Linked DNA regions of Homo sapiens: all the other regions are linked to region 5. Evidence: promoter capture Hi-C in human tissues and cell types (Jung and others, 2019). All regions are on one chromosome and are shown on one strand. Each heading gives the region's core, a stretch centred on a gene start or on the middle of the fragment in contact. The rest is flanking DNA. Distances are from core to core; before and after follow the strand shown.

Evidence for each region. Contacts are between HindIII fragments. The study calls those that stand out against the background at their distance.
Region 1: a fragment that was not itself captured here is called in contact with the fragment with the promoter of MTHFSD in region 5 in 5 of the 25 tissues and cell types used here (IMR-90 fibroblasts, dorsolateral prefrontal cortex, lymphoblastoid cells and 2 more).
Region 2: a contact is called between a fragment that was not itself captured here and the fragment with the promoter of MTHFSD in region 5, in 2 of the 25 tissues and cell types used here (lymphoblastoid cells and mesendoderm cells).
Region 3: a fragment that was not itself captured here is called in contact with the fragment with the promoter of MTHFSD in region 5 in 2 of the 25 tissues and cell types used here (IMR-90 fibroblasts and lymphoblastoid cells).
Region 4: a fragment that was not itself captured here is called in contact with the fragment with the promoter of MTHFSD in region 5 in 4 of the 25 tissues and cell types used here (H1 embryonic stem cells, IMR-90 fibroblasts, mesenchymal stem cells and 1 more).
Region 6: a fragment that was not itself captured here is called in contact with the fragment with the promoter of MTHFSD in region 5 in 2 of the 25 tissues and cell types used here (IMR-90 fibroblasts and mesendoderm cells).
Region 7: a fragment that was not itself captured here is called in contact with the fragment with the promoter of MTHFSD in region 5 in 3 of the 25 tissues and cell types used here (IMR-90 fibroblasts, aorta and lymphoblastoid cells).

What each region holds. Positions count from the first base shown.
Region 1 is chr16:86,072,656-86,076,570 of GRCh38, forward strand. No RefSeq gene overlaps it. Among named protein-coding and RNA genes, the nearest start is that of LINC01082, 120 kb to the right of the region's middle. RefSeq lists an enhancer at 1,721-2,489. The HindIII fragment of the contact is 3,693 bases long and covers 1-3,130 here.
Region 2 is chr16:86,048,549-86,052,514 of GRCh38, forward strand. It overlaps LOC105371389 (a long non-coding RNA gene), which reads right to left and starts at 789. Exons shown (of 2, transcript XR_933854.3): 1 at 646-789. LOC105376778 (a long non-coding RNA gene) reads left to right here and starts at 907. Exons shown (of 2, transcript XR_933855.2): 1 at 907-1,077. RefSeq lists enhancers at 1-379, 2,470-3,104. The HindIII fragment of the contact is 4,718 bases long and covers 1-3,884 here.
Region 3 is chr16:86,972,168-86,976,252 of GRCh38, forward strand. No RefSeq gene overlaps it. Among named protein-coding and RNA genes, the nearest start is that of LINC02181, 84 kb to the right of the region's middle. The HindIII fragment of the contact is 4,609 bases long and covers 487-4,085 here.
Region 4 is chr16:86,892,460-86,896,212 of GRCh38, forward strand. No RefSeq gene overlaps it. Among named protein-coding and RNA genes, the nearest start is that of LINC02181, 160 kb to the right of the region's middle. RefSeq lists an enhancer at 2,892-3,674. The HindIII fragment of the contact is 7,684 bases long and covers 1-3,753 here.
Region 5 is chr16:86,553,540-86,557,316 of GRCh38, forward strand. It overlaps MTHFSD (methenyltetrahydrofolate synthetase domain containing), which reads right to left and starts at 1,696. Exons shown (of 8, transcript NM_001159377.2): 1 at 1,630-1,696; 2 at 1,106-1,212. The coding sequence starts at 1,645. It overlaps FLJ30679 (a long non-coding RNA gene), which reads left to right and starts at 1,781. Exons shown (of 1, transcript NR_026674.1): 1 at 1,781-3,760. RefSeq lists enhancers at 1-630, 1,599-1,648, 1,689-1,978 and a silencer at 1,553-1,766. The HindIII fragment of the contact is 6,717 bases long and covers 1-3,777 here.
Region 6 is chr16:86,992,731-86,996,549 of GRCh38, forward strand. No RefSeq gene overlaps it. Among named protein-coding and RNA genes, the nearest start is that of LINC02181, 63 kb to the right of the region's middle. The HindIII fragment of the contact is 6,483 bases long and covers 1-3,819 here.
Region 7 is chr16:87,042,776-87,046,567 of GRCh38, forward strand. No RefSeq gene overlaps it. Among named protein-coding and RNA genes, the nearest start is that of LINC02181, 13 kb to the right of the region's middle. The HindIII fragment of the contact is 6,740 bases long and covers 1-3,792 here.

The DNA of each region.
Region 1 (3,915 bases), core at 34-2,533, 480 kb before region 5:
ATTGCTTTGTTAATTTGCTGATCGTCTGTGGCCCCAACTAGAACAGGCAGCCTCCACGGGGCGGGGTTTACTCCGTCCAGGCCACAGCTGCATACCCCGTGCCTAGAACAGGGCTCAGCAGACAGCAGTGGCCCAATAAAGGCGCGATTATAGTTTAAAAGCAGTTCTGGGTTCTGGGTAGCTGTTAGTTTTTCAGAAAATACAAATCCAGCTGCTATAAAAAGCACAAATCCTATCACGCTGGATCTGAACTGGATCTGAAATAATATTGGGGATCGCCAAGGGGCTCAGATATTTCTTTAAGTCGCCCGTGAGCAAGAACCATCAACTTGGCCACATCCTCGTTTGTCCAGCAGAGGGCAGCTGATTCCCAGCCGCTTGGAATTGCTCTGCCCAGAAGGGCTCACTTTTTTTTTCCTCTTTGAAATTCTGAAATTGATGGGAGATTCAAAAAAAAAAAAAAAAAAAAAAAATCCCACAGTCCGTGTGAGTGGGGGAAAAAATCACTTGATTTGATGCACAGGCAATTGGGCAATTGTTTCCTTCTAGGTTTCAAAAAACCTTCTCTCTTTCCAGAATTTTGAAGGACTTGCGGGGGGCGTGGGTTAGATTTTTGATGAGCTCAGGAATGGACCTCGGTTTCTACAGGTGTTTGAAGGTCTGATGGATCAGGTGCAGCCCAGCAATGCCTGCAGGTGTCATGGTCACGGAATCTGTGGGAGCAGACCTGCCCTGGAGACACCTGCAGTGAGCCTGGGAGTCACCCCGCTTGCGGAGGGCGGGGAAGGGGGGCACGCAGGAAGCCTGTGCTGTGGGTCTGGTCTGGTCCTAATTAGCTGTGAGACCTTGGGCAAATCACTTAACCTCTCTGGTCCGTTTACTCTTCCGTTAAATGGGATGCCATATTAACTCCTCTTGAAGTTCCTTTTAGCACAAAAGTCCAGAGTCAAAGGAGAGGGGAAGGCTCCTAGCCTGGGTGCCTCGGGCAGTACAAGCCTCTGAAAGCTTAATTATGTCGGATATCGTGGACCTAGGCGGATCTGCAGTTCACCTTTATCTCTGGGTGTGGAGCGGAACTGAGGCTGATTCTTGGCGCTACCACTAACTGGACATGTGATCTGAGGTCAGTTTGTGTCTCTGAGCCTCAGTTTACCCAGCTACAGGCTGAGGACATAGTCCACCTTTGCAGAGGTGTGAGTTTTCAATGTGATAACAGACAAGGGTGGACTCTCTCCTCTCACTCGAGAGCCCCCCTCCCACCCTGGCTGCCCCTGCTTGCCCAGGACTGTCCAGGGTTCCCTGACATGCGGCCCCACAGGTCTGGGTGTGGTCCTAGGGGCTGATGTCTCTCCTCTTCCCCACTTATCAGAATGCCCCCAGCCTGGCCTCTTCCACCTGAGTCCTGTTCTCTGCCTTAATCCAGTGAGTTCATTTCTCCTCTGACAGCCCCTTGAAAAGGTCAGTGGGGTTCCAGGGAGAGAGTTTGGGGAATTATCTCGGCGTCCACCCTGTGTCTGTAGGTCCCTCCTGGGGTACAGTGGATCTGCTAGTGCTTATGTGAGTGAGTGAGTGTGTATGAGTGTATGAGTGTGCAAGTGTGTGTAGGTGTGTATAAGTGTGTGCAAGGATGAGTGTGTATAAGTGTGCAAGCATGTGCGAGTGTGTGTATATGAGTATGCAAGTGTGAGCGAGTGTGTGTGCGAGTGAGTCTGCGAGTGTGTGAGTGAGTGTGAGTGGGATGAGGGGCAGACAGTGGAGAAAAACACAAATCTTTTCTTTTACTGGAGTGAAATTAACATAACATACAATTAACCATTTAAAGCGTGCAACCCAGTCAACACTCTTTTATCAAAGAGAATTTACAATAGCAGGAAAGCACTGAGAGGCCACCATCGGCCAGGCCCCTGCCAGAAGCTTCGCCACACAGTGTCATTTCGTCCTTACTACCTGACTCCAGGAGGAAGGGCGTCAGTGGGTGAGGAATCTAATGCTCAGAGAGGCTGAGCAACTTTCCCAAGAACACCCATCCAGGACGTGGCGGAGCAAGAATCAAGCCTGGGGTGCTGGAGGTGACTGGGGACACCTGCCTGGCTATGGTTCTGACCCGACTCAGGGGACTTGGGAAGGGTGGTGGGCAGGCATGGGCGGGGACGGTGGGCAGGGCAGCAGTAGCCCCAGTGAAGTCACTTGACCTCCTCATCCCTTCATTTCCTGCTCTGCCAGAGAGGAAATGTTTATACAGCGGCCCCACACAGACGCTCCACAGGCCTGGGGTTGCAGTCATTAGCTGAACAATGAGGGCCCGGCCTGTCCCTGGCCCCAGAGATGGCCTGGGGTCAGGCAGCCGGGCCTGGCTCCTCCTCCACGAATTTGCCTTGTGATCCCACCCTGGGCCTGTTTCTCCATCTGGGAGAGGCAGAGGCTGAGGGTGCTGGCCTTTGGGACTCCTCTGAGGCCCCCGGCTGGGTGATCCGTCTGGTGGTGACATGTGGGGAGGAGAGTGGTCACGAAAGGGGGATATGTCAGCAGAGAACTCTCCCCCAGATCCTTATCTCGCACGGTTTAATCATGCGGGTTTCTGATTCAGCTCAACATTTCAACAGCCGCCTAAGAAGTCTCTTCCGAGTGGCTGGCTTGGTCTTCCATTAGTTGGTGCACTGATGAATGAACCAAGCAAAGGTTTATCCTGCACCTATGGCCAGCTGGCCGTGGGCACCTGTGTGCATGTGCGGAGCTGTCCTTAGTGGGTGGCTGTCTGGCCAGGAGCTGTGTTTCCCAGGTGTCTTTGCATCTGGGTGGGAACAGGCCACTGGTTCTTGCTGAGAGAATGGGTGAGAAGAAGGTGGTTGCTGCTGCTCACCAAGGAAGTGTGTTGTATTCACCACAACTCTCTGTCTTTTCCCCTCTCCTGTCTGAAGACTCTGACATCCCCTGGACAGCAAGGCCCCATCTGGAAGAAGCCCAGGCTCTTGAGTCACCATGTGGCAAGGCTAATGTCTGAGAGGGACGTCCACATTGGAAGGGTCCACGCATGAGACATAAACTTGTGACAGGACATTGAGATTTGGGAGAAACAGAATAGAGGAAAATGATGGGATGTGACAGAGACCCAGTGCTGCCCCTGGCTGGCGCCCCAGAGCCCATCTACCAGAGAGCACCTTCCTCCAGAAGACGGGAGGAAATTTAAAACTAATCTTATAGCTTCTGTCCACAGAGAACTCAACCACACACCCACACACAGTCACAAAACAAGAACAACAGAGCACTTAGGGCCAAACCCTTTACATACATTATCTCATTCAATCCTCACAGTAATCCTACAACGTCAGTGCTATGCAGCATTCCCATGTTACGGATGAGGAAGCTGAAGCCCAGAGAGGTTAAGTAACTTGCCCAAGGGCACACAGCCAGCGAGTGGTGGAGCCTGGAGTCGCCCCATGGTCTGTGAGATGCTGAGAACATGGATAAACCTCAGCGTGCACAGTGGGTACACTTGCCGTGTGTCGTCTTGGTGTAGCAGTTGGCATTACCTGAATGTATACAGCTACGTGGTGCCAGCCCTGGAAATGCAGCTGCAGATGACACAGAGCCAGTCCCTGCCCTTGGTGGGGATGGGAGAAGGGGGACACATTCAGTATTTAGGCTGTAGGATCATCAAGATTTTGATTGGTGGGGTAGGTCCATGTTCACCCAGCTGCCTTATATCTGTCAGCCCACCAGAAAGGTGCCCGGGAGCTGGGACAACTCCAGTTCCTGGAAAGGCAGAGCCCCTACTACATATGTGTCCCAGTATATACATCAGTCTCTTGTGAGTTGAGTTACTATGTCTACATACATTGAGTTGGTCCATCCATGAATCAGTATGATCTTAGCAAATTACATCTACAAAGACTCTATTTCTAAATAAGGTTACAT
Region 2 (3,966 bases), core at 276-2,775, 510 kb before region 5:
TCTCTAGCTGGCAGGAGGGCGCCTCCCACTCCCTCTCCCTTCCCTTTCTTTCCTCTCTCTTCTCCCTGCCACTCCCAACCTGTCTTTTGGCACCGTGGGAAGCTGAAAGCTTTAGGCAGATAAAAGACATGGGGTGTTTTTCATGAGTTCTCAAAGGGACTCTGATTAATAATAGTAGCGATAATAATCCTAACTGCTACTTATGCACAAATGCATTGATCTCATTTATTCTCCAAGACAATCCGGGGAGGTAGATTCTATTATTCCCATTTTAGAGATAGGGGAACTGAGGATCAGAAAGGCCAGGCTGCTTGTTTGGGGACCCACAGTGAGTTTTATGGCAGGATTTGGACCCGGTTCTGAGTGGCTGTAAAGTCTATGCTTGTAAATGCATTTTCCCTTTCTCCACACTAACAGAGTTGCCTCCTATGTGCCAGGCACCCTGCTGTGTGCTCAGACAGACAAAGCCCCGTGGTCAAGGAGCTCCCCTTGGAGTTGCCTGTGAGGCCTCCACACCCTCATCACTGACAACCTCTGGGGGGCGCCTGTCCTCACCACCTGTCACTGTCTCATCCAATTCTCCCCACCTGTCACTGCCTCATCCAATTCTCCCCACCTGTCACCGCCTCATCCGGTTCTCCCCACCTGGTGTGGTAGGGGTGGGGGTTATTACCCCATTTCGCAGATGGTGAGATGGAAGCACAGATGTTTCTTTTTCAATGTTGACCAGCCAATAAATGGCAGAGCTGGGGAGAGCCCAGGCCTTCATAGCCCATGGTAATGACCACTGAGTCCATGGCGATGACCCCTGGGTCCGTGGTGATGACACACCTGGGTCCATGGCGATGACCTCTGAGTCCATGGTGATGACACCTGGGCTTATATCAATGACCAGTAGGCTCACGGCAATGACTGCTGGGTGATGCTGCCCCAGGGACCCCATGGCCAAGTAGGCAGCGCTGTTGCCTCTCCTACCCCCCCAAGCCTGCAGTATGTGCCACAGGATGCCAGTGGGCCATCCTCCCCTTGGCCCAACACCTCCTCAGCTCTAGTAATGATGAAAGGATGGCATCAGTGGTGAGCACAGCTATACTCCATTCACGTATTCGTTGTTCACTCGACAAGTATTTACTGAGTACGAACGACCTGAGAGTCTCTGCAGGTTCCTAATCGAGGCATTTGCTTTCACTTCTGCCACTTACCAGCTGTGTGACCTTGGATAGGACTTGGAACCTCTCTGTGCCTTGGTCTCCTCTTCTGTGTAATGGGCATAATGAACACAGGTGGTATCCAAGGCTGCCGGGGCTCAGCTGGGGAGAGTGGTGCTGAGAAAGCCTCCTGTGCGCCAGGCCCAGTGGTGGGGAGCCACTGCCCCTGAGCTGCTGGGGGGAGGTAAAGCTTAGTGGTGAGGAACACGAGGTTCTGTCCCTGCGAGCACCTGAATCTCATGGCCTTCACTGCCTTGTCTGTGAAATGAGGCAATGACAGGATGACCACAGAGTGATTGTGAGGGTGAAATGAGCCCCTGAGAGCTCGGCTGGGAGCCTGTGCGGGAACTGCCCTATAATGTCACCTAGCAAGAGGCCCAGTATTAGACATTAGCTATCCTTCGATATTAGCTATCATTAGACATTAGCTATAATAGCAGTTAGACTCGGGGAGAAGGCAGGAGCAGACATTCCATCGACAGATGTTTGTGAGAAGGTCAGTCTCTGAAGCAACACACGGGGGTGTCCTCCACGTCTAGAAACATCCTAGCCGGTGGGGGGCTTCCCCAGTCCTGCCGAACAAATCCATGCCCATGGTTCACACTTCTCACCTGCCTTCAGTGTGGGCAAATTTCTCAAAACCCTCAGGCCCTGCTGGGTTGCAGAGGATCAGACAAGACGTGCTGAGAGTTTATTCTTTGGAAAGAGGTGCTGACTGTTCCTGTAGCTTCACAAGAGAAGCTGATCTTTCTAAGGTGTGTTCATGGGACACAGAACGTGTCTAAAGGGCAAAGAGCAGGTTAGAATCGTGCCTCTTCTTTGAGCATCTGTTCCATGCCAGGCACAGAGCTAGGCACCTGGAGGGGATGCAGCACCGATGTCCCAGACCCTCTCAGAGGTTGCGCAGCAATCGCTTCCTGCAACACGCCCAGGGGGTACTGGTAAGCATCAGATGAGTGACTCCTGTAAGTCACGTAACACAACCCCTGATCTGAATAAGTGCTTTGTAACTGTAAGTGTTTGTAACTGGGGCTGTGGGAGCTGTGATCATGTGCTTAGGCCCTCCTGGCAGTGCTTCTGCCTGCTCAAGTCCCCTGACCTCTCAGACCGTGTTATTTATCTGTGCGTGGAGATGGTAATGGTTGTTAGGACCAAAGGAGACAGCACACGACGCCAGCACATGGCAAGCGCTCCACAAACAGTGGCTGATGTTCCTTTATTCCCTAGGGGGATTTGCGCCACGTGGAAAGGTGCGGACTGTCACTCATCAGAATCCTAGCTCCAGAGGAGAGAGAGTTGGTGGATTTGCAATACATGGGGAGGGACCAGAAACCAAGGGGCCAGATTTCGAAGGGGCCAACCTGGGGCCTGCTGAGAGCCCGAAGAGCATGGGTTGAAATCCCGACTGGGGCCTTTCCAGCTCTGTGATGCTAAGCAGACTACCTAGCCCCTCTGTGCCTCAGTTTGTCTCTTGTGCAATGGCAGCCGTGATAGAGTTGACCTCCTGGGTGGTTGTGAGGACTCAGGGAGGTGGCACTGGCAATGCTCTCAGCCCAAGGCCAAGGCTCCCCAATGCCGAGCTCTCCCCATAATGATTTCCTCTGCTGAGCAGAGGCAGATGACATCAGCCTCTTTCCTTTCAAGGAAACTCATCTGCAACTGGTTCCAATAAAGCCAGGATGGCTGGGCCAGGGAGGACAGGAAGTGTGGAAGACCCAGGGCTCCTCCCGTGGGCCCAGGAGCCAGGTCACACCAGGGTCCTCGAGCCCCTCCTGAGGACTTGGGGGCCAGAGGGCTTCCTGGCCAGAGGTGGTCAGCAGCGCGCTGGGGAGAGGGTCCCTGGGGGAAGGGCACACGCGCTGCCCTGTCTCCCTCTTCCTCACACCCCCTTCCTCCTCCTGGGCTGGCTGTTGACATAGTGAGGAATTGCTCCCAAGGCAGTGTGGAAACACAAAAGGACGTGGCGCAGCAGCAATAAATCACGATTTATGTCCTCGGAGCTGCCGGAGGATGCTGGGGCTTGTCATGATTTCTGGAGATTCACTGAGCCAGACGACAAGCCGAGCTCCGATGCCCCCATGGTCAAGTGCAGATGGGACCCAAGGTCCCAGCCTGGGGAGGTGCCCTTTCCTTCAGGGCTGGCCGAGGATGCCCAGGGAGGTCAACATGGGGAATGGCTGGATGCATCCAGGGGGCTCTGACCTCTGAACTACCCCTGACACCCGGCCGTGGCAGCGTTTTGTCAAATCAGGATTGGAACACCTGCTTGTGTTGAGGGTGTGCAGGTTCCCGAGGCCGACTTTGAATTGGTGGTGGAAGCTGAGAACTCTGGACAGCCAGAGCCTTTTGGTCCCAGCAATGCCTGGGCGGGGCCGCCTTGTTGGGGTCCTCATGCACCAGGAGCTCAGGTCCTCTCCTAATAGGGCAGCTCTCGTTGCCCAGGGGCTGCTCCCAGCCTAGGATGCTGCAGAACTCTCTGGAGAGACCCGCAGAAAGGCCTCCGCGGCTCTGCCCTGCCTTTGGCGCACTCCAGGCTCCTGTGCTCCAAAACAAAGGGACCAGTGAGGCCGGGACCTCCGCCCCTGTGTGGCCCACAGGTGGATGTGAGGCTTCTGTGATGTGCCTGGCACTGTTCTGGGAGTCGGGGGTGTGACAGGAGCGAAACTGAGCCACTTCCTGGGGTGTGCAGGCCATGACCATCCAGCCTGGAACATGCTGGGGGAGGGGGCTCAGTGTGTGAGGGCAGCAAAGGGACTTC
Region 3 (4,085 bases), core at 1,541-4,040, 420 kb after region 5:
AGAGGACAGCAGAAAAGATAGAAGTCCCTGACCTCTCATTATGGTGAAGAAGGCAATTAGTACAGAAGTAAAAAAAAAAAAATGTTTTAAAGCATGATAAGTGCCAAGAAGAAAACAGAAAACTGGGAGGCGACATATGAAATGTTGAGGCCTGGAGAGCTGAAAATTCTAGAGTGAACAAAAAGGCCTTGCTAAGGTGCCCATGAGTATAAACCTCAGCTTGGTTGGGAGTGAGTCATGTGGCTAGGTGGAAGGTGGAGTGGATGGATAAATGGATGGGTGGATAGATGGATGGATGCATGAGTGGAGGTATGGGTGGGTGGATTAATGGATGGGGGAGAGATGGATGCAGGGATGGAGGGAGGGAGGGGCGGGTGGATGGATGGGTAGATGAATGGATGGATGGATGGGCAAAAGGATGCGTGAGTGGATGGATGGATGGATGGATGGGCAAATGGATGGGTAAGTGGGTGGGTGGGTGGATGGATGGATAGATGGATGGATGGATGGATGGATAGATGAATGGGTGGGTAGATGCATGAGTGGATGGATGGATAGATAAATGGATGGATGAATGGGGATGATGGTTGGGTGGGCGGGTGGGTGGGTGGGTGTGTGGATGGATGGATGGATGGATAGATGAATGGATGGATGGGTGGGTGGATGGATGAAAGCAAAGACAGATGGTAGATGGATAGATGATGAATGGATGGATGATGGCTAGGTAAATGAGTGAGTGAAGAATGAATAAATCAATGAATGAATGAACAGCCCTATGATATACACAATCTTTTTTCTCCATTATTATCATGGCTGTTATTCTTTTTTTCTCTCCTCTTGCTATTTGTATTCCATCTGTCCTTTAAGGTCAATTCTGGGTGCCTCATCTAGCGACACTAGACTGCATCTGTCTCTCCTTGCTGTCAATGCCGAGAACCCTTAGAGGTTGTGCCCCTAGTACAGATGGACTCAACACTAGCATCCTTGGTGTGGGATGAAGCAAGGGAGCTTCAGGATTTATTCATGAAGATATCTGCAAAACTAATTTTCTGCAGTGAATTCCATTTTGTCTGGTGTATTTGTTATCAGTTTAAATACTACTTCTTTCCTAAGGAAGAGGAGAGGTGACTTCAGGATATTAAAACATAAGGACATCGAAAACACATTTAAAAGATCAGTTAATGCAGCATTCTGTTTGGAGAAAGACCATAATTACAGACCAACAGCAACATAAGCAGGCTGGAAGAGTCCACACTCTCTGCAACGTGCCTTTCTCTTTAGCCCTCGTTCTTGGTTTTCTTAATTTTCTATAATGCACAGGATGAATTTTAAAGTACAAGAAAAGACATTTATTTTAAGAAAATGCAGAAACTTTAAAGCAACATATGTAAGGGAAAGGTGTTAATTTTTGTTGACTTTTGTTGTTGTTGTTTTTAAGCATAAGAATGACTTGACTCTAAATTTTTTAGAATGGGGATGGGACACTTCTCCGACAGAGAAGCAGCAGAAGGGTGGAGAACCAGGCCTGATCCCAAACAGGCAGGTGCCTCTAGGTGTTTGGAGAGAATCCTACAGATTCACTTCAGGGCTACAGGAAACTAAGTGAAGCCATCAGCAACTGGGAAGACCATCATACCACCCAGCATGATAGGGTCCCAGCCTATCAGCATTCTAGGCACAAGCAGGCTGGACTTCACGTGTGAGCCCAAAGCTTCCTCCTGCTCTTACAGTCAGGGGTTTAAGGACAGGTTGGTTGTCTTGGAAACCCAGCCTGCCATCCTCACTTCAGAGCAGCATCAGCACAGACACTTAAAAAGCTACAGCAGCGAATAGCTTTCTGGAAGGGTTCCTAAGGTGGCTACACGTTCCCATCCCATTTAGAAGCAAAGCCTAATTTCCCTCCCCTTGAGTGTGGGTTGGCCAGAGAGACTTGCTTGGCCAGCAGGAGGCTGCAGGCTCTGAGGCTAGTCCTAAGGCTTGAGGCTTCCCCACAGGCCTCACTAAACACTTATTAAATCCCTTGGCTGCCATTAACAAGTCCAGCTGGCAGCTGGAGAGACATTGAGACTATGTGGAGGCGGAGGCCAGCTGAGGCCAGGACTCCCGACTTGTGAGAGATACTGCCCCAGACTCTCCAACCCAGCCCAGCCATCAGCTTGACATCACTGAGTGATCCCAGTTGACCCCACACAGAGCTGAAGAGTCAGCCAGCTGAGCCCAGCCCCAACTGCTGACAGAGCTTCTGGTGCAGCCCAGACAAAGGATACAGAAAGTCAACTTGGTACAGGTTTGGCTCCTTTGATGAGTGTTTTCCTAGCTGCACTTTGGGAGAAAAGAAGGCAGAGCACCCCCATGTGCGGGCACACCCACAGAGCAGTGTCTGCAAAACTGCTTTGGCACCGCACACAAGCTAAGAACGTTTTTCACAGATCTAAATTATTGCAATAAAATCAAAACAGGAATTTTATTTCATGACGTGTGTAGAGTACATGAAATTTAAATTTCAGCATCCAGAATACATTTTTGTCTGCACACAGCCAGGCTCGCTTGTTGTCTGTGGCTGCTTAAAACAGCAGAATTGAATAGTCCCAACAGAGACCCTATGACTCCACAGCTGAAAATATTTGCTATTGGGCTGTTTACAGAGAAAGGGTGCTGACCCCTGCTCTGGAGACAAGTCATTTTGCTGGCGATAAGGCAGGGAGTGGTTGTTCTAAACACAGTGAAATTGGTAGATTGTCAAGATGCTTCAAATGTACCCAATTAGATGCATACATTTTTAAAATTCGTCTATAAGATCTGTCCTTTAGATTTATTATAATTGTAAACAACTCCTTTTTAATTTTTTTTGTTTTTAACAGATGTATTGAGATATAATTAAACAGCATAAAATGTACTCATTTGAAGCATACAATTCAATGAATGTTAGTATACTTACAGAGTTGCACAGCCAGTGCCACGGTCTAGTTTTAGAACATTTCCATCACAATAAAATAAACTTCATGCCCGTTAGCAGTCACACTGCCCACCCCACTCTCAGCCCTGGGCAACCACTGATCTTCACTTCCTTTGAGAGTACAATTATGCATTTCTGACACATCTTAAAGAACCTTGTGTCCTAAGTGGGCTTTCCAATTCTCAGCAAGTGATGCTTGGCACCTCTATTCCCACCAATGTCCTTCGCGTATCTGGTTTATATACACTCAGAACACCATTTCCTAAACTGTGTTCCATGACCCACCAACCCCATAGAGCAGAGATTGCTAGTTTTCCTCTAAAGTCTGTTTCCCCTGCTGTGGTCAGTGTTAGAGCACTTGACTTTAGCTGGGCACATGACTGTCCAGAAAAAACTACATCCCCCAGCATCCTTTGCAGCTGGGTGTGTCATGTGATTGGATTCTGGCCAATGGGAAGTGATGGGTCCAACTCCTGGGAAATATCCTTAAAAGGCAAGGGCTGTGGGGTGTGAATGGACGGGAGGCCAAGAAAGCTGGCTTGGTCCCACCACCCTTAGCCCTTTCCTGCTGGCAGGAGCACAAATGTGGTGATGATGAGTCATCATCATCACCCACATCAACAAGGCTAACACCGGGGAGATGCAGGAGCCTAGGTCTGTGAGTCACCAGGTAGAGAAGACCCCATCAGCCCTGGACCACTGGCATCCAGATGCTTCTGTGAGAAAGAGAGAACTGTCTGTCTGGTTCAAGCCACTGTTAACCTGAGTCTTTGTCAAGATGCCAGACTTGTATCCTAACTAATACACTCCACAAACAGAATGGAAAACAGAATCCCCTGCTTGAATTAGTAAATGCTGCCTGTGATATCCGCCACATGTCAATGTGGATTAGTTTATTAAAGGTTCTGAAAAGCTCTGCAGCAAAGAAAGCCGTTAAAGTCCATGTGAGCCCACAGTCCCCAAATGTCCATGGCTTTTTTATTTTTTCTTCTCACCTCCTCACAACCCATACAAAACACTTTGGTAACTTCCAATCTGAAATGATAGAGATATTGCACATAAGCAAAAAAGAGAGGGAGAGAATAATCTTTGGACTGATTTTTCATTCAGGGCAAGAGACTGATCTGCT
Region 4 (3,753 bases), core at 164-2,663, 340 kb after region 5:
GCTCAGCACAGAGCCTGACCACATCTAAACTTCGGAAGTTTCAGCTCTGACTGTGGGTAGGTAGGTTGTAGCAAAGCATGGTTGGGGTGGGGCTTGTCCTAGCCAAGACCCTCCATGACCCGCATGTGCACAACCTTCCTTGTCTTTGGGACTGATACTCTCATTTCAGGAAGCTGTCAGTCTCCGACTTCTTGAGAAAGATCAGCGTGGCTGATAAGCCCTCCCTGGATGAGTGACAGAGCCACTTCTCGGCATTATCATGTTATCACCCATGCCTCCTGTGATTGCACAAATCCTCACAACCTCCCAGCTGCTCATGCTCATGGGTGTCATCTTTCTTCGCAACACCCCTCTCTCTGGCAGTGGGAGCATCTATTTATAGACTTCCATGGATTTTGAGCGAAAGGATCATATTTTCTGGGCTCTGCCACTGGAGAGATGTACTCTCATCAAACTTTTTCTCTGTTACTGTTCTCTGAGGCCCACAGAAGTGAGGGGCATGCCCAGAGCCACCTGGTGAGTTAAGAGGGGGCCCCGCCCAGGCACCAGCCTCCTGTCCCCCTCCAGGGCTCCCTCCCACCATGACATCAGGGCTCACACACTCATAGCCCTGGGTCAGGGGGCTGGGAGGGGGACATTGTGGATAACATGCCAAGTGGGAATTGGGGCTCAATGTTGCCAAGTTTATGAATTTGTAAAAGATGAAAATATTTTACCTAATACATAATTCCCCCATTTTTAAAAACACCAGGTTTCCAAAAATACAAAACCTTAGTTGAATCCAATCAAACAAACTCACATAGACGTGAAACTGCAAAATGCAAGTCCATACACTCTTCCAAAATGCCAATGAAGTAAAGACAAAGAAAGATGGAGGAATGTTCCAGATTAAAGAAGACAAAGGAGATAGCCAAATGCAAGGTGTGCTTCCAGGTTGAAGCCTGGATGGGAAGGCAAAAGTTGCCCCAAAGCACAGCATCGGGACAAATGGTGATGTTTGAATAGGAAGACCAGCTAAGAGCACCCTGGTGCTGTGGCTATGTAGGAGAACGTCCTTGTCCTCAGGAGAACACAGATGTGTTCACAGCCGAGGGACACACCCTCCACAGGTTCCGTCAAAGAGTTCACCAAAAATAAACAAACAACGACAATGACGATGCTGATGGTGACAGAGAAGGAGCAAAGAGCAAGTGCAGTAAATGTCAGCCACAGGTGAGCCCAGCCACAGGAGTAATGCCAGCCGCAGGTGAGCCCAGCCGCAGGTGAGCCCAGCTGCAGGGGAGGTCAGCAACAGGAGTAATGCCAGCCACAGGTGAGCCCAGCCGCAGGTGAGCCCAGCTGCAGGGGAGTTCAGCGACAGGAGTAATGCCAGCGACAGGTGAGATCAGCCAAAGGAATATAGCAGGCCATTGTAATATTTGACCATTTTTCTACAAGTTCACATTTTTGAAAATAAAAAATTTAATAAAAGCAAATAAAACAGGGAAAAATACAGCCAGGGGAGCCATGCCAAGCCTCCCTGCCCATCTGCCCCTCTCATGGGCTGCCCCCAGGATGGAGGCTGCCCCTGTAACACAGCGCCCATCGGTGAAAGGGTTTCAGGTGATTCACCGAGCAGTCCAATCTCATTCATAGGCACGGGTACCAAGACTACTTCGAGCTCCCGACTGCCAGGGCATGCAGAGAAGAACAAATCAGACGCAGCTCCTGTCCTCGTGGGACTCACAGTCTAGACGCATTCAGATCAGAGCACAAGCAAACTCCGCCCTGCGCAAAGGCACCGACTGCGCATGTGCTGAAGGGAACAGCCGGCAGCAGCAGCAGCCAGGGCAAGAGGCACAGGGGAGCAAAGCCAGGACAGGGAAGCCCACCCTGATGGGCTCCAAGAACTCAGGACAACGGTTCCAGGCAGCAGCCACCACCCCGCCACACGATGAGGACCAGAGGCCCGCGTGCCAGGCACCATGAGGTACAGCTAGAGGGTGCAGGGTGAGGTCCGGGAGCTACGTGGTGCCGGCCTGGAAGGTCACACTACAGGTATGGATCTTATTCTGATGGAGTAGGGCCTGCGTCCACCCCCGACCCTCTCCCTCTGTGCTGTCCAAAGCCTGCAGCTGATGATGAGATCAAGAGCAGAGCCCTCTGACGTCGTGCTTGCTGCCTGTCCAACACAGCTCTAAGCACGCAACGTCTCTGAGCCAATTCAGTCCCCACATTAGCCCAGTCAGGAAGATGTGACTATTATCCCCATTTCACAGATGGAAAAACTGAGACAATGTGAAATCAATGTGAAAAGGGCCCTTGTGGTAAACAGCTCTGTACCGGGTTGAATTGTGTCACCCGCATAGTTATGCTCAAGTCCTAACCCTGGGCACATGTGAGGGAGACCTTATCTGGCAGCAGTGTCTTTGCAGATATAATTGGGTCAAGATGTGCTCATATGGGGTGAGAGTGGACCTAATCCAACGGGACTGGTGCCTTCATAGGAAGAGGGAAATTTGGACACAGACACACACACAGTGAAGACGGCAGAGGCCGCAGTAATGCACCTCGGAGTCAAGGAATCCCAAGAAGAGCCAGGGACACTGGAAGCTGGAAGAGGCAGGAAGCGTCCTGCCCTGGAGCCCTCAGAGGGAGCACAGCCCTGCCCGCATCTCGATGGCAGACTCCCGATTCTGCTGCTGTAAGCCCCACCGTTTGCGGTCATTCGTTATGTGGTCATTTGTTAGTGGCCCCGGACGTGAATATCAGCTCTAGAAAGGGTTCTCAGATGTGCATAACAGGGGCCAGTCCCACCCGCTACAAGAAGCTGGTGGCATGGGGGATCTTCTACAGGTTGTTGTTGGCATCGATTAGGGAACAACTGTGCCCCTTGTCAGCCACCCCAGCCCCAAAACCGTATCAGAATGGAGGTCCTGTAGACCCCACAGGAAAGAAAAATGAAAGTCAAGCGGTCACTACTTCTTTCCCTTCCTTTTTCCCTTGGGGCATCATTGACTACATTATAAGCTGGACCACACTGGAATTCTCCCATATTCAGGCTGGAGCTGTTTTGATGGACAGCTGTCTGCAGAAGGGCAGATACTTCCAGGGGCTGTGCCTGCAGGACAGGACAGGGCAGCCACCATGGCCTCCCTGGGACCCCAAGTCAGATACCTGATCAAATTAGCACATGCAGCTGTTCAAATCGTGGTCCTGAAACCCGATGACTGGTTCTGCGAGGGGCCAGGGACAACATATAGAAGAGAACCAGCTTTCTAATGAAAACATTTGCGGGAGAAACAAAGGAGACTTCCTCTCAGAGCCCGCCCTGTCTGCAGACCTTCCCTGGGAAGAGGGAGAGAAGAGGGAGGAAACAGGGAGGTCAGGACGGCGGGATGGGCACGGTGGGAGCCCCAGACCCTCCCTCACTGCACAGTGCCTGTCCCTAGCTGGCGGACTCCAGCCCCTGCCTGCCCTGGCATTTCAGAATATCTGATTCCTGACCGGGGGGGGCCATCTCAGTAAACAAACATTTAGGCTTACTGTGAGCTGTTCGGCATGCATTTTCCTCACAGTGAAATAAGCCAATCCTGCAGGATTTGGAATTTTGCAAGTTTTCATTTGGGAGTAAACAAGCCCCTTTGATTTCTCTCTCAAGGTACGCCGGGAATAGATATTTTGGTCTCACATCCAAGCAGGGAGGTCGTCTGTTTTTTGTATAACAGTAGTGGCTGTTTAGAGAAAGGATCGGTAGTTAAACTTTCAAGTCTC
Region 5 (3,777 bases), core at 446-2,945:
GGCTTAGCACCTGGGCCACCAGCTGCTGTGCTCTATTTCTCGCCGGGCCTTAGCTGCCTCCCCAAGACCTGCAGCCTGCCATGCCTGAGCCTCCCCACCCCCACCGGCGGGCTCCTGTGCAGCTAGAGCCTCCCCGAGGAGCGACGCTCCTGCTCCACGGTGCCTGGTGCCATCCACTGCCCAACGGCTGAGGAGTGCGGGTGCACTGCACGGGACTGGCAGGCAGCTCCACCTGCAGCCCCAGTGCGGGATCTGCTGGGTGAAGTCAGCTGGGCTCCTGAGGCTGGTGGGGACTTGGAGAATCTTTATGTCTAGCTAAGGGATTGTAAACACACCAATCAGCACCCTGTGTCTAGCTCAGAGTTTGTGAATGCACCAATGGGCACTCTGTATGTAGCTAATCTAGTGGGGAGGTGGAGAACTTTTGTGTCTAGCTCAGGGATTGTAAACGCACCAATCAGCATCCTGTCAAAACGGACCAATCGGCTCTCTGTAAAATGGACCAATCAGCAGGATGTGGGTGGGGCCAGATAAGAGATTAAAAGCAGGCTGCCTGAACCAGCAGCAACAACCCTCTCCAATCCCCTTCCACATTGTGGAAGGTTTGTTCTTTGCAATAAATCTTGCTGCTGCTCATTCTTTGAGTCCACCCTGCCTTTGTGAGCTGCAACACTCTCTGCTAAGGTCTGCAGCTTCACTCCTGAAGCCAGCAAAGACCGTGAACCCACCAGAAGGAAGAAACTCTGAACACATCCAAACATCAGAAGGAACAAACTCCAGACACGCTGCCTTTAAAAACTGTAACACTCACTGCGAGGCTTCATTCTTGAAGTCAGTGAGACCAAGAACCCACCAATTCTGGACACAACCTCACCTAGAGACAACCAAACCACCCTGCACAGAGACGCAAGAGGCCCCAGGTGAAGAGTAAATGACGTCTCTAAATGCTAAGGACGCCCTGGCCAAATGGCTTTGATTTCACACCACTGCTCACTGCTCGCCACATTCTCATCCACCATGACGCAGTAAGAGAATTTTATTACTAGTGTTATTCATTTAAGAATATTTTGTTTTCCTTTTCTGGACTCCAGAAATATGTCAGTACCTTAAAGTTGGGTATCCTGTGATGAACAGGTCGGGGAAAGTCAGCTAAATTTTGTGATTCCATGTAGCCCCAAATTTGTTCACGTATGTCCTGTTTGGAGACACCTACTGCAACAAAAGATTCCCACTTAATAACATACAAAGGAATTCCAGAGCCCATGCTGAAACCGCTTAACAGTAGTTAAGCGACCCCCGCGTGTAGGTCAAACCGGCTTCCGATCCTGTTCCTGAGCCTCAGTTTCCCCGACCTCAAGGGGCCCACGGGCTCCCCCACGTGCACGGCAGGTGTCCCTCCCGCCTCGTCTTCTCGTTATCTTTATTTTTCCTGACATCTTTCTCGGGATTCCGGGCGAGAGAGCCGCTGGTTCGACCCGAACCCAGCACAGACCCCCTCTGACCTCCTCGGCCGCTTCCGGTGATTCTGCCCCATCCTCTGCCAGCCCCGGTGGCCCCGCCTCGACCCTCACCGGTCCCGGCTGTCCCTCCCCATTCCCAGCCGCCCCGGAGCCCCGCCAGGCCCCCCACCTGCCCTCGGCTCCATGGTGATGCAGTCGCTGTGCGACGCTTCCCGGCGCAGGTTCTGGCGCGTAGTGACGTCACCCGCTCCGCGCCTGCGCGATGGTAGGAGGGGCGGAGGCTGAGCGGGCGAGGCCCAGGCGCGCATGCTCGGGCGGGTAAAATCCGCGCCGGGGACAGTCAGGGATGCTCCCAGGCCCTTCGCTCTTGCTTTCAGCTAGTCATTGTCGAGCGCCGCCCGTGACAGGCGTTTTGCCAAGCCCTGGAGTTACTGAAGTGAACAAGTCCCTGGTCTCTCGGGACCCATTGCCGGTTGAAACACATCCCGCCTCCTCTTCCAGTCCTAGAGGCCGCCTCCTCCGGAAAGCCGGCCTTGATTGCTCCTCATGTAGGACGCGGTTCCCTCCTCTGAGATCCTGCAGACTCTCAGGTGCTCACACGTGGGTGTGCAGCGGATTCAGCCGGCAGCTCTTTAAAGCGGCAGGCAGATGGAAATTCGAGGCCAGCCCAGCCCCGGCGACTGCGCTGCGGACGGCCAGAGGCCATCCTTTGAGAAACACCCGTGGATTCTTACCCTGACCTCTGCATACCCTGAGAAAGAACGAACGTGGCAGCCTGCGTCTGCTTGTCTATGTCTTTCATGTTTGCTAACCTAAGGGTCGAGAAGCGGCTCGAGGAGACCAGGCTGCACAGACCGTCACGTCCATTCCCTCTCTGGCCCCAGCCCCGCGGGAAGAAAACGAGGGCGTTCAGCCTGGCAGTTCATTCACTTATTAGGAAGAAGACATCCCACACCCCCACCCAGCACACACACAGATGTCAGGGACCAGCCACTAGGAACCACTCCCTGAGCGAATGAAGGCATCCCCGTAGCCACGTGCCTGGTACATCACAAGCACTCAAAACGTGGCTGCCACCTTTCGAAATTGCATGCCCAAAACTTTATGAGATCCTCACAACACACTTGGGAAACAGACAAAAGAGTTTGAATGCCCGCCTACTTAACAGATACAGAAAATGGTGTTCCGTGTACAAGCGACTTACTCATGTCTGCTGGTAACTCATAATGTGCCGTTTGACCTCCTTAGGACATAATTAATAATGGTAATTAACAGTGCTACGATATGCCAGGCATTGAGCTTAGCGCCTTAAAAGTCATAGCTAACTATGTTTCACAGCAAACCCTCAGAGGCAAATGTGACCCGCCTCCTACGCAGGAGGCAACAGAGGCTCAGACATGTTAAAGAAGCTTGGCCTGAGTCTCCCAGCAGAGAAAGGGCAGAGCGTGTAGCCCTGACAACGTGCTTAATTGCAACTCCTGTGGGTCCCATCACAACTCTCTCTTCCTATGTGGTGTCCGCAACATTAATACATAGAGACACCGAGGAGCCTCAGTTCTGCTTGTGGGCGGGCCTGTCTTTCACCAGGCTGGCAAAAGCAGTGCAAACATCATTTTGGAGGTGATAAAATAAAATCTCTCACAGAGGTTGGATGTCCTTTCCGCCTTTCATGGAAGCACAGTAGATCTGCAGAGTGTTTTATGCAAGTAGACTTGGTGCCAGTAGTGGAAGTGTGTGCAGGATTCTGTTACCCAGCTGTGCTCAAAACAGAGCCCAAGTCTCTCCGATGGTCAGCCTGGCACGGCCCCCAGATGGTAACGAGACGCCAGGGACAATCTGCCAGTGGCAATTTTAGAAAGCAGGTGGTGCTAGGAAGGGCATTCTCTTCAGTTCCATGTTTTCAAGTTAGAAGTGCCTCAGAGCATTTACCCCCAGCTCCTTGAGGGGGTGAGGCAGAGGATCACTTGAGCCCAGGAGTTTGAGGCTGCAGTGAACTATAATGGCACCACTGTACTCCACTTGGGCGACACAGCCAGAACTCCTCTTTGAAAAACATAATAATAAATAAAAATAATAAATAGTAGTAATAAGAGACCCCTTAGAAAAAATCAACTGGCTCTTTTATGAAAGGAAGATGCTTTCAGAATGAATAGCTAATGCATGTGGGGTTTAATACCTAGGTGATGGGTTGACAGGAGCAGCAAACCACCATGGCACACATTTACTACCTATGTAACAAACCTGCACATCCTGCACATGTATCCTGGAACTTAAAATAAAATTTTAAAAAAAGAAGATGCTATTGAACCTTAACTCA
Region 6 (3,819 bases), core at 39-2,538, 440 kb after region 5:
GGCTTGGCATGAGTGAGAGTTGGATTTCTGTTGTGTTACCTACTGCGATTTGGGGGCTGTTTGTTAGGGCGGCATAGCATAGCAGAGCCTCACTGCTACAGAAAGACTTGGCTAAGTGGTGAATCACACATGACTCTTCCCTTGCAGAGCTCATGGTTTAGTAGGGCAGATGAGATCTATGTGTAAAAAACTGTAACAGAGGCTGGGTGGTGGGCCTCAGGGCTTGCCCGATTTCAGAGCCAGCCCTGGAGAAGTTGCACCAATCGAGCAAAGACTTGAAAGAGAGCATGACCCAGGAGAGTGAATGTCATTCCAGCTGGAAGGAACAGCATGAGCAAAGATCCAGAGGCCAGAAATTAAGGGGCGTGATGAGTTTGTCAGAGTTGAGGATGTGGGAAGAGAAATGGGAGAAAATAAGGCTAGAAAACACCACTGGCCCCAAGATCATGAAGGGCCTCACATTTCAGATAAAGGAGTTTGGATGCATTTCTACATACTAGCGTTTCTCCAGGAAACCTGAGTCTCGTAATACACACCTAGAAGGTAAGAGCTTCATCATGAAGACATTTAGAAAAAGCTACACCCCCCACTTCCTTCTTAATATGATGTTAACAGAGTCAAGCCTCTGAGAAGTCCTGCAGTAAGGAATCCAACTAGATTTGCTTAATGCAGCATTTCTCAGCCCTGTTGGAGCAGGAGCTCTTTTTTGACATACTTGGGGAAACATTGATGAGCAGAAGGATTTATAAGCGGGAAGATGGCAGGAGACAGGCCTGTGAGGCGGGGAGATTCATCAGCAGCAAGGAGACAGACAGGACAGCCGCTGCCAGCTCACATCCACCCCCTACCCCCCACCACCCACCTCAGCTGGCCTCGCCGCAGCCAGGCGGACCAGTCCATGCAGGCTCCAGCCCCTCCGTGCTGGCTCATTGTGCCACAAGCACAGGCCGCTGGTCTCCAGTCCTTCCCAGAACTTCTCCAGTGCCGTGAGGCTGAGGAAGCCCCTCGGGCCTTCCACATCACCGCAGGGAAGTGGGGAGTCAGCGCTTGACCCATGAAGGGACGAGATCCATAGATAAGTACTCCTTTTGGGCAGACAATTCTAGGAGGTGTTCTGTGCACGTCTTAGGAGGTCACGGTGGGACTGCACCCCGTGCCCCAGCAGCGACGTCAATCGCACAGCCTGCTCCTCCTGACTTGCCACTGAACCCATGCGCCCTGGACAACCTCCCAAGGAACCCACCACTGCTCCACGGGCAAGTTGCCGGCTGCCTTTGGGGAGCCCAAGATAAGAGCAGGGGTGGATTAGAAGGATGGTGGGGGAACGAAAGCCACGTGTGGGACAAAAGACGATCATGAAAGCTCGTCTAGACCCAGGAAGGAAACCTAAGTGTCCAGATGAACACCGCTCCACAGAGAAGTGGCAGCAGAGCAGCGGACGGCAGAAACCACGCCTTGCCGAGCTCCCACGGGGCCAGAATCTACCCCACAATTCGGCTTCATCTTAATCTACTAAGCCTCCCTGCAAAGACTTTTATCACTTCTTTGATTTTACAAATTTGGAAACTAAGGCTCAGAGAAGTGTGGTTTTACCTCTGAAACACGCAACTTCCCACCCACCCAAAATGAGTGATGGAGAAAGAACCAACAGGATTGGGCAACTGTTGGATGTTGAGCAAGAGGGAGAGAAGAGTTGACTCGGAGGTTGGTATACTCCAAGAAGGCTTCCTGGAGGAAGTGGACAATTCAGAACACAGGACCCTTTATCCAAATCAAATACAAATAGGGAACACTATTATTAAGTATTATCTCCTATCTCTGTAAAAAGCCTTGTGGCCAGGGGGTGTTCTGGAAATGCTAGTTAATTTCTGGTTAAATATTGGATCCCTGGGAGTTCTTTAAAGGCTCGTTTACCCAGCCTGGAAGTTAAGCCTGTAACTTAAACGCATTGTCAAAACCAGGAAACATTTACCCCCCAGTCCAGACCACAGCTGAGTCATTGGCCAGGAGAAGCTCAGTCTGTGTGCAGAGAGCTGGAGATTATCTCATCTTCCAGGCACTTGTAGACATCCAATCTGGACAAATCATGTCCCACTCCCAAGAATCTGCAAGAAATGGCCTGATGTGTCTCCCACAGAACAGCCGATGATGATAACTCATTGTCACTCGAGCCAGTGGGCAGATAATGACCCCGCTGACAGGGTCCAGCCTGCTGCTCCGCCCCAGCAGACATGCTCCAACAATGGCTTCATCATCCTCCCCACCGGGACTGTGTAGATGAGGGAGGTGCCTCCCGCGGTGCAGGCTGTGAGCTCTAAGCAGTCACGCTGGACGCTGGACCAGTGCCCTGGGCTGCTCCTCCCTGCAGCCCCACGAGCCCAGGTAGGGATCACCAGAGGTCGTTTCACTCCCAAGTGGAGTGATAAGTCAGTCCTTCTACAGGAAGATTTCTCACAAAGTGCCCTACTGCACTGTCAAAGGGTAAAAAGGAGAAAAAAAATAATAAAGCCAGAGGCAAGGGCTCCAGGCAAGAGCAAGATGACAATATTTGTACAGCGGGGTTTGGAGAGGAGCCCCCGTGAGAGCCCAGCGTCTGAGAGAGCCAGTCCTTTGAACTGTCCCACCCTTTGTTATGACAAGAGACTTGATAAGCCCACCCAGCACAGAGACCCTTAGAATCCAGGCATATGGACTCCATTAATCTGCCCTTGCACCTTTTAAGTACTTTGCAGCTCCTGCCGCCCACAAAATCCAAGCAGAGTGAGAGTCGCAGGGTTAATTTTCTTAAATGGATTTTAGTCAGGCAAGCCCCGGATTTCTTTGGAGGGCAGAAGTTGACAGCTCACTGCTGGCCCCAATCTGTCCTTGGGGTAATGACGTCTGCCGCCCCTCAGCATGGGGACCAGATGCGGTCAAGGTGGTGGAAGCAGCAAGCAATGGGAAAGCCCAGCCAGCTTAGGCAACCCAGCACGGGGGAAGGCAAGGCGGTGGCTGGGGGACCGCGCCCTGGGTTGCATCCCCGCGTACCACTGGCCGGCTGTGTGCAAGGTCAGACACACACCTTAGATCCTGTGCCCGTTTCCCCTTCTGAAATCAGAAGCCACCATCGCTCCTCTGCCCTGCTGTGAGGAGGATCGTGAGTTACAATGTGTAAAGCGATGATAACAGTTCATGCCATTAACAAGCGCTCAACCAAGATGTGCCGACTGGGTGAGGGAATGAGAAACAACAGCAACCTTCAAAGCAAGAATGAGCATCAAGACAGCACGCGCCACTGTGCTGAGAGCTTTAGATGTGGTCTTTCCAGCCTTCCCAACCATCCTTCTTGAGATTCTAGGGGCTAGTAATGCAGATGCCTCCACCAGACTCCAACAATGCCTTCACATTGAGGTGAGCATCCAAACCCAAACTCCCGCCAACAGGGTTGGGGAAGCTTCCGGGGATGCCGGGTGGGGAAAGGTTTTCCCCCTTCATGAAGGGAGGCTCCTGTAGAGGAATGGCTCTCCTGCCTGGAGGGGCTCTGGTGGGGGATGAAGCCTGGGGTTATGGACACAACCGTATTACATTCACTAGAAGCTGGAAACGACTGGGCGTGGGTGGCAGCGAGAGGGACAAGTATTGAAGTCCCAGGCCACATCTGCGATGGCCGGGCTAGCCTACCTTGCAGCTCCTTGTTTTCCAAAAGGACGTGATTCTGCCCCATTTCACCCAGCCAGCCAACACTTGGGACTATGGAGAGGGCCATGGGGGAGGCGAGTGCCAGCCAGGCAAGGATAGTACAGAGACCCACAGGTCACTCACTCATTCACTCCTCAAGTA
Region 7 (3,792 bases), core at 926-3,425, 490 kb after region 5:
GCAGCAAGCCAGCTGTGTACTTGCTGCCTCCATCCAGACAGGCAGAGGCCAGGGACAGAAGGGAGACCATGTACCCAGGATTCCTCCATGCAAGAAAGAAACCTTTCCCCAGAAAGCCCCCATCTCCCCTGGGACCTGGGAGGCTGAGCTGGCTCCAGGGCTGGAGGAATCACACCCGGGCTCCCTGGGTGCCATGTCCCGCACGCAGCAGCAGGCCGAATGGCCCCTAAGACAGGCGAGGTGTGAGCGGAGCATTCACAGCCTCCCCATGAGCCTCTCCAACCCACGAGCTTCCCCAACCCACGAGCTTCCCCAAACCACGAGCTTCCCCAACCCACGAGCTTCCCCAAACCACGAGCTTCCCCAAACCACGAGCTTCCCCAAACCACACCATTCCTCACATCGACATGAACTCTGTAAAAAGACCAGGGCCATGAACGTGCCTCTGAGCCCTGGTGCTGTCACAGACGGGCCCTGTGACTGGTTAGTCCCACAAACCTCGCCCGGGCTTCCCATGGCTTTTTGGAAAAATATCACAGTTCATATTGTGACCTAGAAGGTTATCAGACGAGAGCATTTGCCCAGCATAACTGAAGCCAGACTGGGCTGAACTAAGTGATAAAACAACCTCAGAGCATGTTGTTTGGCACCAGGGAGTAGGGTTGGAGCCCAGATCATGCCAAGAGCTGGTGCAGCGGAGATTCCTGCCCACCGCCTCCAGCCCCAGCATCCAAGTGCACTGCGTTACAGCCAGGATTCAGCTGCACCCACAGGCACCACGGGAGCAGCGGCTCCAACAAAGTGCTGGTGGAATTTGTTTTTTTCACATAAGGGTCTGAGCTGTGCTCTCTGAAATCACCAGGATTTTCCTCTCTTGTTAATGGTTGTGTCCACCCACACAATAGCGATTCGGTACCGTGTCTCCACCCAGCTACTGCAAGAAGGCTTCTCTTACTTCAAGACACACGCAGCCTGTTACACACACATCAGCCGTCAAAAAGCCTGGGAAAAGCATTCCGTGTTCTGTAGCTTGCCTAGTTAAACACTCTCACTGTGGAAGGGAGGGGGAAACGAGGGTGGAAAACAATCAGCCGTGTCAGCCTCCCTCTCCACGTGCCGGCTACAGAGGGCTTCCTTCTGTTCCTCTGAAGGGGAACAAGCTCTTCACAGAGGCTGTTCCCTCTGCCAGGACACTTCCTCTCCTATCTCCTAGCTAACTCCTTCACTGCCCTCAGACCCCAGCTCAGTCACTCGGCCACCCCACCTGGCCACCTCAGAATTTTTTTATAATCCCTTCCTGTGATCGTTTGACTGACGGCTGCCTCCCTCGAAAGATGTTATGTGTCCCAAGGTGGAATGTCAGCTCGTTTCCTGTTAGGTGCCAGCACCTACTCCAGGGCTGACCCCTCTGGCTGAAGAGCTGAGTAAATGTATCACCCTCCTGAGTCTCCAGGTCCCCTGCACGTGGACACGACTCAGAGCCGTCACAAGAAAGCAAATGAAGATCTTAGGCCAGGTGCAGTGGCTCATGCTTGTAATCCTAGCACTTTGGGAGGCCAAGGCAGGTGGATCTCTAGGGCCCAGGAGTTCGAGACCAGCCTGGGCAACCCCGTTTCTACTAAAAATACAAAAAATCAGCTGGGCGTGGTGGTGTGTGCCTATAATCCCAGCTACTCGGGAGGCTGAGACAGGAGAATCACTTGAATCCAGGAGATAGAGGTTGAAGTGAGCAGAGATCATACCACTGCACCCCAGCCTGGGTGACAGAGAGAGAGAGAGAGAGACTGTCTCAAAAAACAAACAAACAAAGCAAATGAAGATCGTACCAGGGGCTGACACCAGAGATGCCTGACTAAGTGGCAGGCACCATCCCCTGTTTTAATTTGCTTAATCCGCCCAGCAGCCTTTTTCTTTCTAAGGCAGGTTTTGCTCTTATTCCCATTTCACAGAAGAGGAGACGGGGCAGAACTGAGTCAGCTGAGGAGGCAGGCTGGGACTGAACGCAGCTCTGGAGCTGGCACACTTGGGGTTCCGGCAGTTCCCTTTCTGCACTTTCTGGCCAGCGAATGGGGAAACCTGGGCCGTCTCCACGGGCCACAGACCTGCTGAGGGAGCTCACAGTGCAGAGGGTCCAGGGTCCCTCCTGTTCTTGTCCCCAAGCCTCTTCTGGGAGCCCCTCCCAGTTGGACCCGAACTGTGGCTCACGTAAGGAAGCCATGTGTTCCTGCCCGCCCAACCCCCCAGAAGAAGTGCTTTCTGCACAAGGTCCCCGAGGCCCCACAAGCCCAGAGATCCATGATTCCATGCAGTCAGTGCCTCCGGGCTCAGGGCCTCTGGAATATGGCCGTGTGGCCGGTCCCCTGCAATGGCTCCTGGAGACCCACAGCCAGGTGACACATGGCTGTCCGCTCCTGAACCACAAGCCAGAACACAGGCAGGTGTGTGCTCTGAGAGGTGAGGATGGGGCCTAGGCCTGGAGCAGCCTGCAGAGGATGTCAAGGAAATGCTAAAACATGCCCCAGAGAAAAATCTGCCTGAAGTAACTCAGTCAACTTCTGTATTATCCTTTTTTTTTTTTTTTTTTTTTTTTTTTACCAAAAAGCCCCCACCCAAAACTACGTTGTTATAACGAAAGGGATATGCATTCATTCATGCAGGAAGAGGAGGAGAATATACCAAGTACAAAAGAACAGGCTTATCCACATCCTGCCGCCAGCACTCACAGGCAGGGAACCTCCCGGTTCTCGGTGTCAAGCCTCCCTCCTGGAGGAGAAACCCACGCTGGTGTCATCACAGGTTCAGTGCGCCTCCCTCTACGACCTCCACAGGAACAGAAGGGGCTGCTTTCGCCATCCCTCCCACAGGGACGGGGTGTGCATGGTGCGGGGAGGTGGTGCCGAATACCTTGCACAAACGACACCTGTTCCTCGACGCTAAAGTTTCCTGAGGCCTCCCCTGTGTCGGATGCCGCGGGTCCCCAGGGAACACGGCGTGGACTCAGGCTTGGCTTCTGTCTCCCATCTCCTACCCATCTCCCCAGCTTCTCATCATCCAGGGTACGCACAGGAGACAGTTGTCTTGTTTGTAACAAACATTTTTCCAGCACTCTCCACATGCTAGGCCTTGCTCTAAGCACTTTACAAAGGCTAACTTGGTGAATCACAACCTTACAAGGTACGTACTCTTATCACATTTTACAGATGAGGAAATTGAAGCCCAGAGAGACCAAGCCACTTGCCCAAGGTCACACAGCAAATGAGTAGCAAAGACTGGATTCAAACCCAGCCATTTGGGCTCCAGAGCCCGTGCTAATGGTCTCAGAAACACAAGCTGCCCCACCATGAGTGTGAGGGACACAGTGAACCCACTTTGCCAGGGGAAATGGAGACGGGAGCTGCCGCATGGGACGGAAGGCACTGCTAACGTACTTTATTTGTTTTTTAAGGCCAGCCAGACGAATGAGGTACAAGGCAGTAGCTATGCACCTGGCTATACCTGAGAATCGCCTGGGGCGCCCTGAAAACTGCTGCCCAGAATTTGATTCCCTTAGTGTGGGCTGGAGCCCAGGAGTCAGTGCCTGTTAAGGCTTCCCATGCCACTGCACTGTGAAGCCAGGTTTGAGAACACCTGCTGTGTCCACAGATTCCAGCTACATGACCCTGGAATACTTGCTTGACCTCCCCAGGCCTCAGTTTCCCCATCTGTGAAATGGGAATGCTACCGCTTTGGTGTGAGAAGCTGCGTGTCACACACACACCTCGCTGGGCCCTGGTACAGCCCGTGAACCACGTC